2 separate regions of the Homo sapiens genome follow, and region 1 is linked to region 2. Evidence: promoter capture Hi-C in 16 types of primary human blood cells and fetal thymus (Javierre and others, 2016). All regions are on one chromosome and are shown on one strand. Each heading gives the region's core, a stretch centred on a gene start or on the middle of the fragment in contact. The rest is flanking DNA. Distances are from core to core; before and after follow the strand shown.

Region 1 (7,256 bases), core at 982-3,481, 91 kb before region 2:
AACCCGGGAGACAGAGGTTGCAGTGAGCCGAGATCGCACCATTGCACTCCAGCCTAGTGACAGAGCAAGATTCAATCTCAAAAAAAAAAAAAAAAAAAAAAAAACAGCCGATGTGGTAGCATGCACCTGCAGTCCCGCTACTTGGGAGGTTCAGGTGGGAGGAAGGCTTGAGCCCAGGAGGCAGAGGTTGCAAAGAGCCAAGATCACACCATTGTACTCCATCCTGGGCGGCAGACCCAGACCCTGTCAAAAAAAAAAAAAAGAAGAAAGAAATATTGAATATTGACTGCTTTTATAATGTTGTGGTAAGAAAAGTAGAAAAAAGCTTCAAAAGTCATAAAATCCCACACCTCCTCTGACTATTACAGTATGAAATGCAAGGCTCTTCTCAAAGTGGTCTCAATTTTACTTCTCCAGTTCTAGGTAGGGAAACGAACATCTATTGAGAAGCTACAGTGTGTCAGCCCTGTGGTGAGTCCTCTCTACACTTCATCTGATGTAAGAGCACCCTCATTCCAATCCAAAGATCATGCTCTTTCTCCCACATGATGCTGTTCTCTGGCTTCCTCACCCATACTTCATTCCCTCTTCCTCTGATTCAATCATCTTTGTCTCTGAATACTCTACATTCTCCTAAAACTCTCTGCCTACGCAAGTTCTTTTTTTTTTTTTTTTTTTTTTTGGAGATGGAGTCTTGCTCTGTCGCCCAGGCTGGAGTGCAGTGCTGTGATCTGGGCTCACTGCAACCTCCGCCTCCCAGGTTCAAGCGATTCTCGTGACTTAGCCTCCGAAGTATTATAGCTGGGACTATAAGCACGCACCACCACGCCCAGCTAATTTTTGTAGTATTAGTAGAGACGAGGTCTTGCCATGTTGGTCAGGCTGGTCCCAAACTCCTGACCTCAAGTGATCCGCCCGCCTCGGCCTCACAAAGTGCTGGGATTACAGGTGTGAGCCACCGCGACAGGCCTACCTATGCAACTTCTATTCGCCTTTCAAACCCCAAAGTCTTCTCTTTGATGACCCCCTTCCCAATTCATCCAGGTACAGCTGGCATATCCCATCTCTTGCCCACGGCATCCACACACATCTTTGCTATCAATGCAATGAAACTTGTTTCCCCTAGACTAGGAGTTTCTCAGGACAGTGGCCATCACTTATTCACTTCTCATTCTCAGATTCAGCACAGAGCTTTGCACACCCCAGGTACTCAATAAATATCAGGAGATAATCACATTCCGGGAAGCCTTCCTAAACTACCCCATCCCTGAATCTACTCTTGCTCCTTAGTTCTATGGCTGGCACAGCTGACACCATAAAACTTCAACCCTATTTTCATGTTGCCATGGTCGTTTTATGTGTTCTAGTCTCGTTTACCCAATTGGACTATAAGAAGCTTCTGAGCAGAAACCATATCACACCTGCCCGTGTCCCTACACTGTGCCGAGCACAAATATTCTAAACATACACCTGCTGTTAGACTGGTGGGTAAGTCCAAGGAGGCAAGCTAGCTGGCGATACAGAATGATCTGAAACCTAGGCAAAACTCCCTGACGCTCTCTGACTGTCCTCCTGTCTTCTTTAATTTCTCTTTCTGTGTCTCTTGTTTCTACTCTGAGGAGATAGGGGCATGATCTTCACTCTACCCTCTTAACACTTAAGAGGGCATATACTGTAACGCAAGACAATGAATGAACTGTGGTATTCAAGAAAAAAAGGGTCCTAAACGCCTAAGAACTCATAATTTGGCCAAAAAGATAAGACTGATACGTGAAGACAACGACCGAAACAAAGTACCCGATGAGGGAGACCAGGACAGAGAGACACCTCCGCGGTCAGGCGAAAAGGAAGTCTCCCCTAAGCAGTGGGGCCCGCACCACGCCTCGAAGGACAGGTAGAATTTGGACAGAAGGAAGGAGACCGTCCCGTTGGGCAAAACCTCTCCACTCGCAGTCCCGCAGGCTTCCCGGAATCCTTCACGCTAAGGCGTGGCGGCGACCGAGTCTCAGCCGCAGCGAAGCCCCTAGACTAGAAAGCAGGGAGGTTCCAGTCGGGGTGAGGGGACCGGACCAGGGCAGACCAGCGTGGCCAAGCGGCAAGAATACTCGCCGAGGTGGCTCGGGAAGAGCTTGGCCTCCTGCAGCCCCTGCAGAGCACATACCCCAGCTTACCGTCTGTCGGCTCCAGGTCTCTTCAGCTCTTCTCCCACCTCAGACCATCTCCGGAGAGGCGCTTGAGGGACGGTCAAGGAAAGCCAATCGTCGTTCTCGGATCCGACTGACAGCCAATGGTAGCTGTGTCTGGCGGAACCCGTGCGCACCAAAACACGGAAGGGGCGGGAACAGTGGGTGGGGCTAGGCGTCCCGGGCGGACAGAGGGGCGACAGGATACGTGCAAAAGGTAGCACGTGACCGCGCCTCGCTGCTCAGGGCAACGCAAAGGCGGGGAGCCTATGGGCCTGAGTTCCCCTAACTGCGCAGGCTCGGCCTCCGGGACCCAACGGGCATGCGCAGGGCTCGCGCCTGGTGCGCAGTGGGGTCTCCCTCACGTGGTTCTTCGCTTTAGTTGGCTGGTTGCGTGGGCCTCGCGGAGAAAAAGGCGTGGGATGCTGCCCAGCGCTGTCGGCCCCGCTCGGCTCAGATTGAAGGTTCTACCCTTTCCTTCAGCCTCTTAGTCTTATTATGTTTTAAATGTTGGTATTATATGTTTCTCTTTCCCCCCAAAACTCGGCTTCCCTTCATCCACTCGTTCAGGTCAGAAAGCTGGCAGTCATCACTGATTCCTCTCACTTCTCACATCCAATCCATTGCCAAGTTCTGTGGATTCTACCTCCTTTTAAAACAGGATATTTCAAATTTATCCCCTTTTGTTTATCTTCACCGCCTCCCCCACCTCCCCTGTCCAGTGATGACCTCCAGGCAGGATTTATACATTAGTCTAATGGGTCCCGCTGCGTGCACACTTGCTTCCTTCCAAAGCATTCTCCACTTTGCAAAAAGCAGACCTGATCAAGTTACCATCTGCTTCAGACAATTCAAAGGCATTCTATTGCTTTCAGGGCAAAGCTCCAAAACCATACTGAGGTTTTCTAGACCCTTCAGCATCTGGGCTCTCCCTGTCTACTTTTTTTTAGTCCTTCTCGACCATATTTCTTGCTCTCCAGTCGCAAATTTCTTTCACCTTTTCCACCACACCAAGCCACCTTTTACCTCTCAAGCCTTGAACTTGTTTTCTTTACCTGGAATAATCCCTTTCTCCTCCTCCCACATTTATTTGACTGACTCCTACTAATTTTTATGGTCTCAGTGTAGATGCTTCTTTTTCCAAAAAGTCTTCCTGATAGTCCTTTCTTGTATTTAACAATACAGCTCAGTCACATTGTATTTGTCTGTTTACTCTCAGTCTGCATTCTTCACTAGACTAGTTCTTCACCTTTATAACTCCATCAGTGGGCCGGGTGTCGTGGCTCACGCCTGTGATCCCAGCACTTTGGGAGGCCGAGGCGAGTGGATCACATGAGGTCAGGAGCTCAAGACCAGCCTGGCCAACATGGGGAAACCCCGTCTCTACTAAAAATACAAAAACTAGCTGGGCATCGTGGCGGGCGCCTATAATCTCAGCTACTCGGGAGGCTGAGGCAGGAGAATCGCTTGAACCCAGGAGGCACAGGTTGCAGTGAGCTGAGATGGCACCACTGCACACCAGCCTGGGCAACAGAGCAAGACTCTGTCTCAAAACAAAACAAAAAACAAAATAAAACAAAAAACCCATCACTCACTTAGCCCAGTGGCTGAAACTCAGTAAGGGTTCAAGACATACTTGTTAAATAATATACCTTAATAAAGTTGGTTAAGACTGATATTTTATTGCATTGTAGTTTTCTGTATCTTCTAATCTAAAAATAAACCTATATAATTTGTACAATCAGAAAACACATTAAATGTTCAATATATATAAAATAAAATTTAAAATGCCATTAAGATAGTAAAGTCATACTTGTGCATAAATTTTGGTTTTAACAACAGTGAGTTATAACTTGGTCCCTATTTTAAAATAGGGTTTTGCAGGGCGCGGTGGCTCATGCCTGTAATCCCAGCACTTTGGGAGGCCGAGGCGGGCGGATCATGAGGTCAGGAATTCGAAACCAGCCTGGCCAACATGGCGAAACCCCATCTCTACAAAAAATACAAAAATTAGCCAGGTGTGGTGGTGGGTGCCTGTAGTGCCAGCTACTCAGGAGGCTGAGGCAGGAAAATCGCTTGAACCTGAGAGGCAGAGGTTGCAGTGAGCCAAGATCACTCCACTGCACTCCAGCCCGGGCAACAGAGAGAGACTCTGTCTCAAAAAAAAAAAAAAAGCGTTTTAAAAAATGTAATTCAAAAGTAACAAAATATATCTTACCAACTTTATTCATTCAAAAATGCATATAGTAGTACTTCATGAAATGCCATCCTCATTTTAATTCAGATTTACACCACTGAAAATAGCTTTTAGCTTTATTTAGCAATTTTATGAAGAAAAAGTTCATTCACAGAGCTGTGTAAACTCAAACATAGGTTACAGAGCAAAAATTTCAGGATTGCTCTGGGATCCATATATATGTTTCCAAAATTTAAAGCAGTGTCATTCTGTCTAGCATAGTTTACTTCTATCTCAATCTGCTTCTCTTGAAAACAAGCCACAATTTTGGCTGGGTAATTCAGACATATCCTGAGATTTGTTCTTTAAAAGCTGCCACAAAAACTGAAAGCATAATTCATACTCATTAAAAGCTGTGGATCCCTTCTGAAAGTGTGAAATGGATTAAGTTGATGAAAATATGTTTCGTATTTTTTTCATTCATTTAAAAATTCCCTATTTTTGAAACGTGATCAGGCTCTTCTTCACTAAAATATGTGATTCCATGGAACTCTGGGCAGCTCAGTACTGGAAGCTCAATACAGATTCCAGTTACCATCTACTCATTCCCCAGGTCCTGTAGAACTCTGAATACCTGTTCTCCCATCAACAAAAGTTTCTTGTGCAATCACAAGTTCACTGTGTTTGGTTGTCGTGTCATACTGGTAGAAAAACTGTTCCTCTGTGAACCACTAAGAGTTACATTTCTTAGACTGGGGAAACAGCTTGAAAAATCTCTTTGAATTTTCATGACTTAGAATTGAACATTTCACTACATAAAAATCAACCAAATCGATGTGTCCATCAATGGAGGATTGGATAAAGAAAACGTAGTTAATGTAGTGAGTGATAAAGAAAATGCAGTTTATAAACTCCAACTTGACTTTAATAAATTAAATTCCAAGCTGTCACACAGCAATGGACATCATTATCATCGCCCAACACACACACACACAGTGGAATACTACTCAGCCATAAAAAAGAATGAAATCATGTGTTTTCCAGCAACATGGGTGGAACTGGAGGCCATTATCCTCGGTGAAATAACTCAGAAACAAAGTCAAATATGGCATATTCTCATTTATAAGTGGGAGCTAAATAATGGGTATACATGGACATATAGAGTGGAATAAAAGACATCGGAGACTATGAAAGGTGAGAAGGTGGGAGGAGGGTGAGGGTTGAAAAACTACCTATTGGGTATGATGTTCACTATTTGGGCGATGCGCACACTAAAAAAAGCCCAGACTTCACCTCTATGCATGCAATATATGCATGTAAGAAACCTGCACTTGTCCCCCCAAATATATAAAACTAAATTATCTAATTGAAAAAAAAAATCTATACCCTCCATTCTTCCCGGATATCTCATATTTGGTGAGTAGTGTGGACAGGAGCATGGGGAATAGTAACAATTTCCACATGCTATCTACCCAAAGGCATGTGCCCTAAACACCCTGAGATATAGGTAGTCATAGAATGTCAAGGCTGGAAGTGACCTGAATGTTTATCCAGGTCACCCTTATTTTAGATATGAGGAAACTGAGGTCCCCAAAGGAGAAGTTGCCTGCTCAAGATCACTTGGTTTGTCTGTGGCAGACTCAGTTTTCTTGCTTCCTGGTCCTGCATTCTGCCCAATATCCTGTAGCAGCTTACCTGGTTCAAGTCCTGTATAAGATCTCAAGCACGGGAACCAGGGACACAGTTTGCTAGGATCTATCAATCCCTGAAATTTGCCCACATTTCAGAATGAGAGAGCTTTTATTATGTTGAAACACTTCTAAGACTTCCCCCTCCCAGTTTCTTCTGAGGCAACAGTTAACACTCAGCACTTCATTTACTTCTCATCCACAACCAAATGATAGCCATGATGATTGAAGTTCCCATTTTACAGATGAGAAAACTGAGGCACTTAGAGGTTACATAACTTGCCCAAGGTCACACAAGTAATTAGAAGAGCTGGGACTCAAACCCAGGCAGGCAGTCTAGTTACAGGGTCCAAGCTTTGATCTCCATTACATCCTAGAAGGAGCAGCCTGTTCCAGAAAGGGGAATGAAGACTAACCTGTACTAGTTGATTGAGTTTTTTGCTACAATTTCATACTCCAGAGCCTCCTGTCTCTTCCATCCTTTCTCTGCACACCCCTTCTTCCCTGCAGGAACTTCTTAGCAGATCCACAATGTGTGTCATCTACCCAACCTCATTATCCGGGCCCCTGTCTCATCCTCCCACACCATCCATGTCACAGCCTGGCTGCCTACTGCCTTTCAAAGGATAACCAGTTGTCCAGTTTATAAACTCCAATTTGACTTTAATAAATTAAATTCCAAGCCATCACACAGCAATGGACATCATCATCGTCTCCCAACACACAGAGGTGCAGCCTTGCGTGGCTCCATCATCACAGTCTTTAAATAAAGCCCCTAAAGCCATCTCTCTGGGGAAGGCTTCCCACCAGGCTCCCGGCTCCCTCCTTCCCACAGAGCCACTGCTCACAGAGAAGGCATCAAGTACAAAAAACGGTAATAAAGGGGGAGGGAGGGATGAGGAGCAGGAGGGGAGGCAGGAAGGTGGGGAGTACCTGCCCCCCATCCCGGGCCGGCCCTGCTCTCTGTGAGCTGCCAACATTCTCAGAGGCAGACACTGGTGCTGGTCTGAGTGGGGACCTGAGGGAGGTGTGGGAGCCCCATCCCAAAGGGAATTACCCACCCTCCTGGGACAGAAAAGAAGGGTCACCTGGGAGAGATGCCCTCTATCATCTGTTCACGGAGGGTCCTAAGCCACACATATAAATAGAAAAGAGAATAAATAAGGGAAGAAGGGTCAGCTGAAGAGCTGAGCACCCTGGGACTCCGCT
Region 2 (7,568 bases), core at 5,069-7,568:
GTGAGCCACTACGCCCAGCCTCTTTATTTATTTATTTATTTTTTTGAGACGGAGTCTCTCTCTGTCGCCCAGGCTGGAGTGCAGTGGTGCAATCTCAGCTCACTGCAACTTCCACCTCCTGAGTTTGAGTGATTCCCCTGCCTCAGCCTCCTAAGTAGCTAGGACTACAGGCATGTGCCATCACGCTCAACTAATTTTTGTAATTTTAGTAGAGACAGAGTTTCACCATGTTGGTCAGGCTGGTCTTGAACTCCTGACCTCAGGTGATCTGCCCTCCTCAGCCTCCCAAAGTGCTGGAATTACAGGCGTGAACCACTGTGCCAGGTCTTAAATGGCATTTTTAAATCTATCTGGGATTTATTTTGTGTGGAGTGTGCAATAGAGATCTAAGTTGATTTTTTCTAAATACCTAGAACAATTTATTCATTTATCTATTTATTATTTATTTATTTTGAGGCAGGGTCTCACTCTGTCACCCAGGAGGGAGTGCAGTGGCGTGATCACAGCTCATTGCAGCCTCAACCTTTTCGGCTCAAGCAATTCTCCTGCCTTGGCCTTCCAAAGTGTTTCAATTACAGGCATGAGCCACTGTGCCTGGCATTATTTATTAGTTAATCCACTCCACTCTATTGATTTGGGATGGCTTCCTTTTTTTTTTTTTTTTTTTTTACTTTTTTGGAGACAAGGTCTCACTCGGTTGCCCAGGCAGGAGTGCAGTAGCACAATCACTGCTCAGTGCAACCTTGACCACCCAGACTTAAGCAATCCTCCCACCTCAGCCTCCTGAGTAGCTGGGACTATCAGCATGAGCCACCATGCCTGGTTAATTAAAAAAAAAATTATTTATTTATTTTAAATTTTGAGACGGAGTCTTGCTCTGTCACCCAGGCTCAAGTGCAGTGGCATGATCTCAGCTCACTGCAACCCCCGCCTCCCTGGTTCAAGTGATTCTCCTGCCTCAGCCTCCCTAGTAGCTGGAATTACAGGTGTGTGCCACCATGCCCGCCTAATTTTTGTGTTTTTTTTTTTGAGACTGAGTCTCACCCTGTTGCCCAGGCTGGAGTGCAATGGTGCCATCTTGGCTCACTGCAACCTCTGCCTTTCAGGTTCAAGCGATTCTCCTCCCTCAGCCTCCTGAATAGCTGTGATTACAGGTGCACGCCTCCACGCCTGGCTAATTTTTGTATTTTTAGTAGACGGGGTTTCACCATGTTGGCCAGGCTGGTCTGGAACTCCTGACCTCGTGATCCACCCACCTCGGCCTCCCAAAGTGCTGGGATTATAAGCGTGAGCCACTGCACCCGTCCAGGAGTGTCATTTTTTTTAATTAAAAAAAATTTTTCTTTTGAAACACGGTCTTGCTTTCACCCAGGCTAGAGTACAGTAGTGCGATCATAGCTTACTGCAGCCTTGACCTTCCTGCCTCAAGCAATCCTGCCACCTCAGTCTCCCAATTAGCTGGGACCACAGGTACATGCCACCACACCTGGCTAATTTTTACTTTTATTTATTTATTTATTATTTTGAGATGGAGTCTCGCTCTGTGGCCCAGGCTGGAGTGCAGTGGCGCGATCTTGGCTCACTGCAACCTCCGCCTCCCGGGTTCATTCGATTCTCCTGCCTCAGCCTCAGGAGTATCTGGGATTAAAGGCACATGCCACCACGCCCAGCTAATTTTGGTATTTTTAGTAGAGACTGGGTTTCATCATGTTGGCCAGGCTGGTCTCGAACTCCTGACCTCAGGTGATCTGCCTGCCTCAGCCTTCCAAAGTGCTGGCATTACAGGCATGAGCCACTGCACCCGACCCTGGCTAATTTTTTATATTTTTGTAGAGATGGCGGGGGGTTCTCCCTATGTTGCCCAGGCTGGTCTTGAACTCCTGGACTCAATCAACCCTCTCACCTCAGCCTTCCAAAGTGGTTGAATTACAGCATAAGCCACTGCACCTGTGCAGGATGTCCCTTTTATCATAGTTAAAATCATACATGAGATAAAAAATTTTTTTGAAACAAGGTCTTTCTTGTAGCCTAGGCTGGAGTGCAGTGCTACAATCATAGCTCACTGAGGCCTTGAACTCCTAGGCTCAAGGTCTCTTCCCGTCTAAGCCCCTGAGTAGATAGGACTAGAGGCACATGCCACCACACCTGGCTAATTTCTAAATTTTTTGTAGCAATGGGGTCTCACTACGTTGCCCAGGCTGGTCTCAAACTCCTGACCTCAAGCCATCCTTCCAAAGTGTTGGGATTGTAAGCATGAGCCACTGGGCCCAACCTCGGATGATATTTAAAATAATGTTGTCCATTCATTTCTATGGCTTCTGAAAAAAAAATAAAAACTTTGTCCAGTTTCCAACAAATTCTGTTGGGATATAGATTGGGATGGTTTTAAAATGCCAAATGAATTTTGAATGGATTGACATTTGGACAGTATCAAAGTCATAGCTTGTTTTTCAGGCATGTAGTATGATTTACGTTTGTTCAAATTACCTTTTATTATCCCTTAGTAAAGTCTTTGTACTGTATTGGGATGTCATCTTCTCATTTCTTTTTCTTTTCTTTCTTTCTTTCTTTTTTTTTTTTTTTGAGACGGAGTCTCACTCTGTCACCTAGGCTGGAGTGCAATGGCGCCATCTCAGCTCACTGCAACTTCTGCCTCCCAGGTTCAAGTGATTCTCCTGCCTCAGCCTCCTGATTAGCTGGGATTACAGGTGTACACCACCACACCCGGCTAATTTTTGTATTTTTAGTAGAGACAGGGTTTCACCATGTTGGTCAGGCTGGTCTCGAACTCCTGACCTCATGATCCGCGCGCCTCAGCCTCGCAAAGTGCTGGGATTACGGGAGTAAGCCACCATGCCCGGCCTATCTTCTCATTTCTTAACATTCTTTGGAAATACAGTGAGCAAACTAGCATTTGAGTCCCTACTATCCTGATCATAAAGTGCTTTAAAATGTTTTTCCATTTAATTCCCACTGACTGGGTGCGATGGATCATGCTTGTAATCGCCGCACTTTGGGAGCCTGAGGCAGGTGGATAACCTAAACTCAGGAGTTTGAGACTAGCCTGGCCAACATGGCGAAACCCCCTCTGTACGCCGGGTGCGGTGGCTCACGCTTGTAATCTAGCACTTTGGGAGGCCGAGGCGGGTGGATCACGAGGTCAGGATCGAGACCATCCTGGCTAACACAGTGAAACCCCGTCTCTACTAAAAATACAAAAAATTAGCTGACCGTGGTGGCGGGTGTCTGTAGTCCCAGCTACTCGGGAGGCTGAGGCAGGAGAATGGCATGAACCTGGGAGGCGGAGCTTGCAGTGAGCCCAGATGGTGCCACTGCACTCCAGCCTGGGCGAGAGAGCGAGACTCTGTCTCAAAAAAAAAAAAAAAAAAAAGAAAGAAAAAGAAAAAAAGAAAGAAAGAAACCCTGTCTGTACTAAAAATACAAAAATTAGCCAGGCGTGTTTGCGGGCACCTATAATACCAACTACTCAGGAAGCTGAGGCAGAAGAATCGCTTGAACCCAGGTGGCCTGGTCCTGTAGTCTTAGCTACTTGGGAGGATCGCTCAATGCTCAGGAATTTGAGGTTAGAGTGAGCTAAGATACCATTGCACTCCAGCCTGGGCAACAGAGCAAGCCTGTCTCAAAAACAAACAAACAAACAAACAAACAAACAAAAAAAACAGACCGGGCGCAGTGGCTCACGCCTGTAATCCTAGCACTTTGGGAGACCGAGGTGGGCGGATTACCTGAGGTCAGGAGTTCGAGACCAGCCTGGCCAATAGGGTGAAACCCTGTCTCTACTAAAAATACAAAAATTAGCTGGGCGTGGTGGCACATGCTTGTAATCCCAGCTACTCAGGAGGCTCAGGCAGGAGAATGGCTTGAGCCCAGGAGGCAGAGGTTGCAGTGAGCCGAGATCCTGCCACTGCACTTCAGCCTGGCCGACAGAGCAAGACTCTGTCTCAAAAACAAACAAACAAACAAATAAACACCATCGACCAGGCACAGTGGCTCATGCCTGTAATTCCAGGATATTGGAAGACCAAGGCAGGTGGATCCCTTGAGCTCAGGATTTCGAGGCCAGCCTGGCCAATATGGTGAAACTCTTGTCTCTACAAAAAATAGAAAAATTAACCGGGTTGGCTGGGTGCAGTTGTTCATGCCTGTAATCCCAGCACTTTGGGAGGCCAAGGGGGGCAGATCACCTGAAGTCAGGAGTTTGAGACCAGCCTGACCAACATGGAGAAACCCTACCCCTACTAAAATTACAAAATTAGCTGGGCATGGTGGGGCATGCCTGTAATCCCAGCTACTCGGGAGGCTGAGGCAGGAGAATCGCTTGAACCCCAGAGAAGGAGGTTGCAGTGAGCTGAGATCACTCCACTTCCAAAACAAAACGATAGGGCTGTTAATTTAGGTGGTGGTTACACGGGTATTAACATGTGTAAAAAATCACTGAGTTGTACATGTAAGATTCCTGCACTTTTTGTATTTTATTATGTGTATGTTAAATCTTAAAAATAAAAGCGGAGAAAAACCTGATGGCTTCCTACTCCTCTATTAGGTAAAGTAAGAATCTGCTCTGGTTTGGTTTCGGAGGAACTGTTTCCTGGTCCTTGGATCTACCTGGCTGAAAGCACAGTGCCTGGTACAAACTAGGCTCCTCCCCGATTTTGAATTAACGAAGTTCAGTGACATCGTCATCCTATTTTTTTTTTTTTTTTTTTGAGACAGGCTCTCGCTCTGTCACCCAGGCTGGAGTGCAGTGGCACGATCTCGGCTCACTGCAACCTCTGCTTCCCAGGTCCAAGAAATTCTCCTGCCTCAGCCTCCCCAGTAACTGGGATTACAGGCGTGTGCCACCAAGCCTGGCTAATTTTGGTATTTTTAGTAGAGACAGGGTTTCACCATGTTGGCCAGGCTGGTCTCGAACTCCTGACTTCAAGTGATCTGCCCGCCTTGGCCTCCCAATGTGCTGGGATTACAAGCATGAGCCATCGCGTCCGGCCTGTCATCCTATTTTATCTCATCTCCTCCTCCTCCCTTCCCTGACCATCTTCTCTGGAGTAAAAGATCTTTGCTCTCAATTTTGGAACACTTACAATTCCTTCAGCCACTCTTGTTAGGAAGATATAAGGGAAGAGAGCGAGAGACAGGAGGCAACTCAACGGCCAAACAGGTTTATTCACAGGAATAAGCCTGCAAGGAGTTCCAGTCAGGAGTCTGGCTGAGACCCTGATCGCTTACAAGCTGAGGCTTTTATAATATCGTTTCTATTGGGGAGAGGTCGGGAAGTGCTGGCTGATTGGGACTGTTGGGGACTTTGTTAGGCTATGTTACCTTCTGTTGAAGCTATGGGCAGGGTTAACATTTGCTCTGTTTCTGAGAACACAGTCATCATTGTTGTAAAATAGCATCACTACTGTTACTCCTCACAACTCTTAACTGGGATCAGTGAAAACCATTGTTGTTGAGAACTCTTATAGAATTTCTGAGCTCTTATCTAAATCATCTGTTGAGTCTTCACAATGATCTACCAGGCTGGTAGGAAACGGGAGCTCATAGAGATTAACCAAGGTCATACAGTTAGAATGCTGTGGGTCTAGGACTAGAATTTGATATTTACTCCAGGCCCCGTCTCTGTCCCCAACAATCTAACCACAAGTTAAAATTCCAAATTGTGGGCTGGGCGCGGTGGCTCACGCCTGTAATCCCAGCACTTTGGGAGGCCGAGGTGAGCGGATCACGAGGTCAGGAGATCGAGACCATCCTGGCAAACACGGTGAAACCCCGTCTCTACTAAAAATACAAAAAATTACCCGGGCGTGGTGGTGGGCGCCCGTAGTCCCAGCTACTCGGGAGGCTGAGGCAGGAGAATGGTGTGAACCCGGGAGGAGGAGCTTGCAGTGAGCCGAAATCGCGCCACTGCACTCCAGCCTGGGCGACTGAGCGAGACTGTTTCAAAAAAAAAAAAAAAGAAAAAAAGAAAATACTGTGTGTTCCTACAACACCTTTCCCAGACTGTGAGCAACTTGGGAACAATGATTATCACCTTAGTGTTCGGTGTGTTTTGTAGAGGAGGGCACTCACTAAAAACTGGTTTGTTGAATGCAACCACTTAAGAATTGGACATGCCGTGCCCAGCCCCTAAGGGGCGCTATGCTCGTTCGTCCAAGGAGCAGCGTGACCAGCGGGAGGGAGTAAGTCGACGTCCCCGGCATGTGGGGCGGGGAACTCCACTGGCCGGCAAGCGAAGCAGCAGGCGAAGACCACGCCCCCGCCGGCCGCGCTTGCGCAGCCTTCGCTAGCCCCGCCCCGTCCTATTCGGGCTCCCGCCTCTGTTCAGGTAGGAGGCGGTATGCGGGGGAGGGGAGTCACCTGAGGGCGGGGATCTCAGGTCTTGGGGAGCCATTGTTGGCGAACCCCAACTTCCGATACGACCCGGAGCTGTTCCTGCAGTTCCAGAGACAATTCATGGGTCTTGGGGCCACCGAGGCGCTGTCCCTGACCACCAGCACGAGACCCCTTTCTATCGCGCCAGTCCTGTGGTCTCCGCACCTCTCCAGCTCCTGCACCCCCGGCCCCCGTGGTTCCCAGCCGCACAGTAGCGTGTCCTGGGTAGCGTGAGGACCCACGGGGCTGGGCAGGTGCCACGAGCCCGCCGCCTCTTCGCCGCCCGCCGCCTCTCCTCCTCTCCCGCCCGCCGCCTGGCCCTCCCCTACCAGGCTGAGCCTCTGGGTGCCAGAAGCGCGGGGCCTCCGGGAGAATACGTGCGGTCGCCCGCTCCGCGTGCGCCTACGCCTTCTGCTCCAGTTGCTTTCCCAATTGAGCGGAAAAGCCGGGGCATGTTGCCGGGGCCCTGGGCGGGACGGTTGTGCCCTGCAGCCCGAAGCCCGCCGGGGCACCTTCCCGCCCACGAGCTGCCCAGTCCCTCTGCTTGCGGCCCCTGCCAACGTCCCACAGGTTGGAAACCAGACCCTGCAGCCCCCAGCTAGCCCGAAGGAAGCCCAGACTGACGTCGCAGGGTAATGGGGACCCAGAGGTAGCTCTGTGGGGCCCCATCAGGACCTCAGCCCTTAGCGGGGCTTTCTGTGTGACACCGTGGGACCTGAACTGGGGAGGTCCCCCTTGCACAGAATTACAAGGGGCAACTGTAGGAAACAATTAAATCTATTATGTGCTAAGTATTGAGAGTTCCACGGATTGAGGCCCTCTCTAGAAGGCTTAGAAGTGGGGTAGCCGGGGTATGTGTCTGACTTTGTGTTTTGGTGCGGTGGTGGTGAGTGGGTGTAGAAACTAATAGTGCCAAGTGCAGTGCCTGTCAACTAGTAAGTTAATAAACCTTCCGTGAATGAATGAGAAGGTTCTGTGACTGAGGGAGCAGGGCTAGAGAGGGCATCTCTGCTCATCCCACCCCTGCCTCCCCTGGGCTCAGGCAGACAAAAGTAATTAGGTTGAACCTTTAATCAAAGCTGGTTTCACAGGCAAGCAGACATGATAGAGGAGGTAAAGGCAGAAATCCTGGGGACACAGGGTGCTGGCCTGGCTCACAGGCATGCCTCCTTCCG

What was found. The method cuts DNA at HindIII sites, captures the fragments that hold promoters and counts their contacts. A CHiCAGO score of 5 or more calls a contact.
Region 1: the fragment with the promoter of HINFP here is called in contact with the fragment with the promoter of SLC37A4 in region 2 in 1 of 17 cell types (total CD8 T cells); the score reaches 5.1 in total CD8 T cells.

The regions. Positions count from the first base shown.
Region 1 is chr11:119,116,555-119,123,810 of GRCh38, reverse strand. It overlaps HINFP (histone H4 transcription factor), which reads right to left and starts at 2,231. Exons shown (of 10, transcript NM_198971.3): 1 at 2,172-2,231. It overlaps C2CD2L (C2CD2 like), which reads right to left. Exons shown (of 14, transcript NM_001290474.2): 14 at 5,267-7,256. RefSeq lists a silencer at 2,218-2,497. The HindIII fragment of the contact is 5,005 bases long and covers 1,399-6,403 here.
Region 2 is chr11:119,029,627-119,037,194 of GRCh38, reverse strand. SLC37A4 (solute carrier family 37 member 4) reads left to right here and starts at 6,318. Exons shown (of 10, transcript NM_001467.6): 1 at 6,318-6,346. RefSeq lists silencers at 1,044-1,198, 6,704-6,863. The HindIII fragment of the contact is 18,338 bases long and covers 1-7,568 here.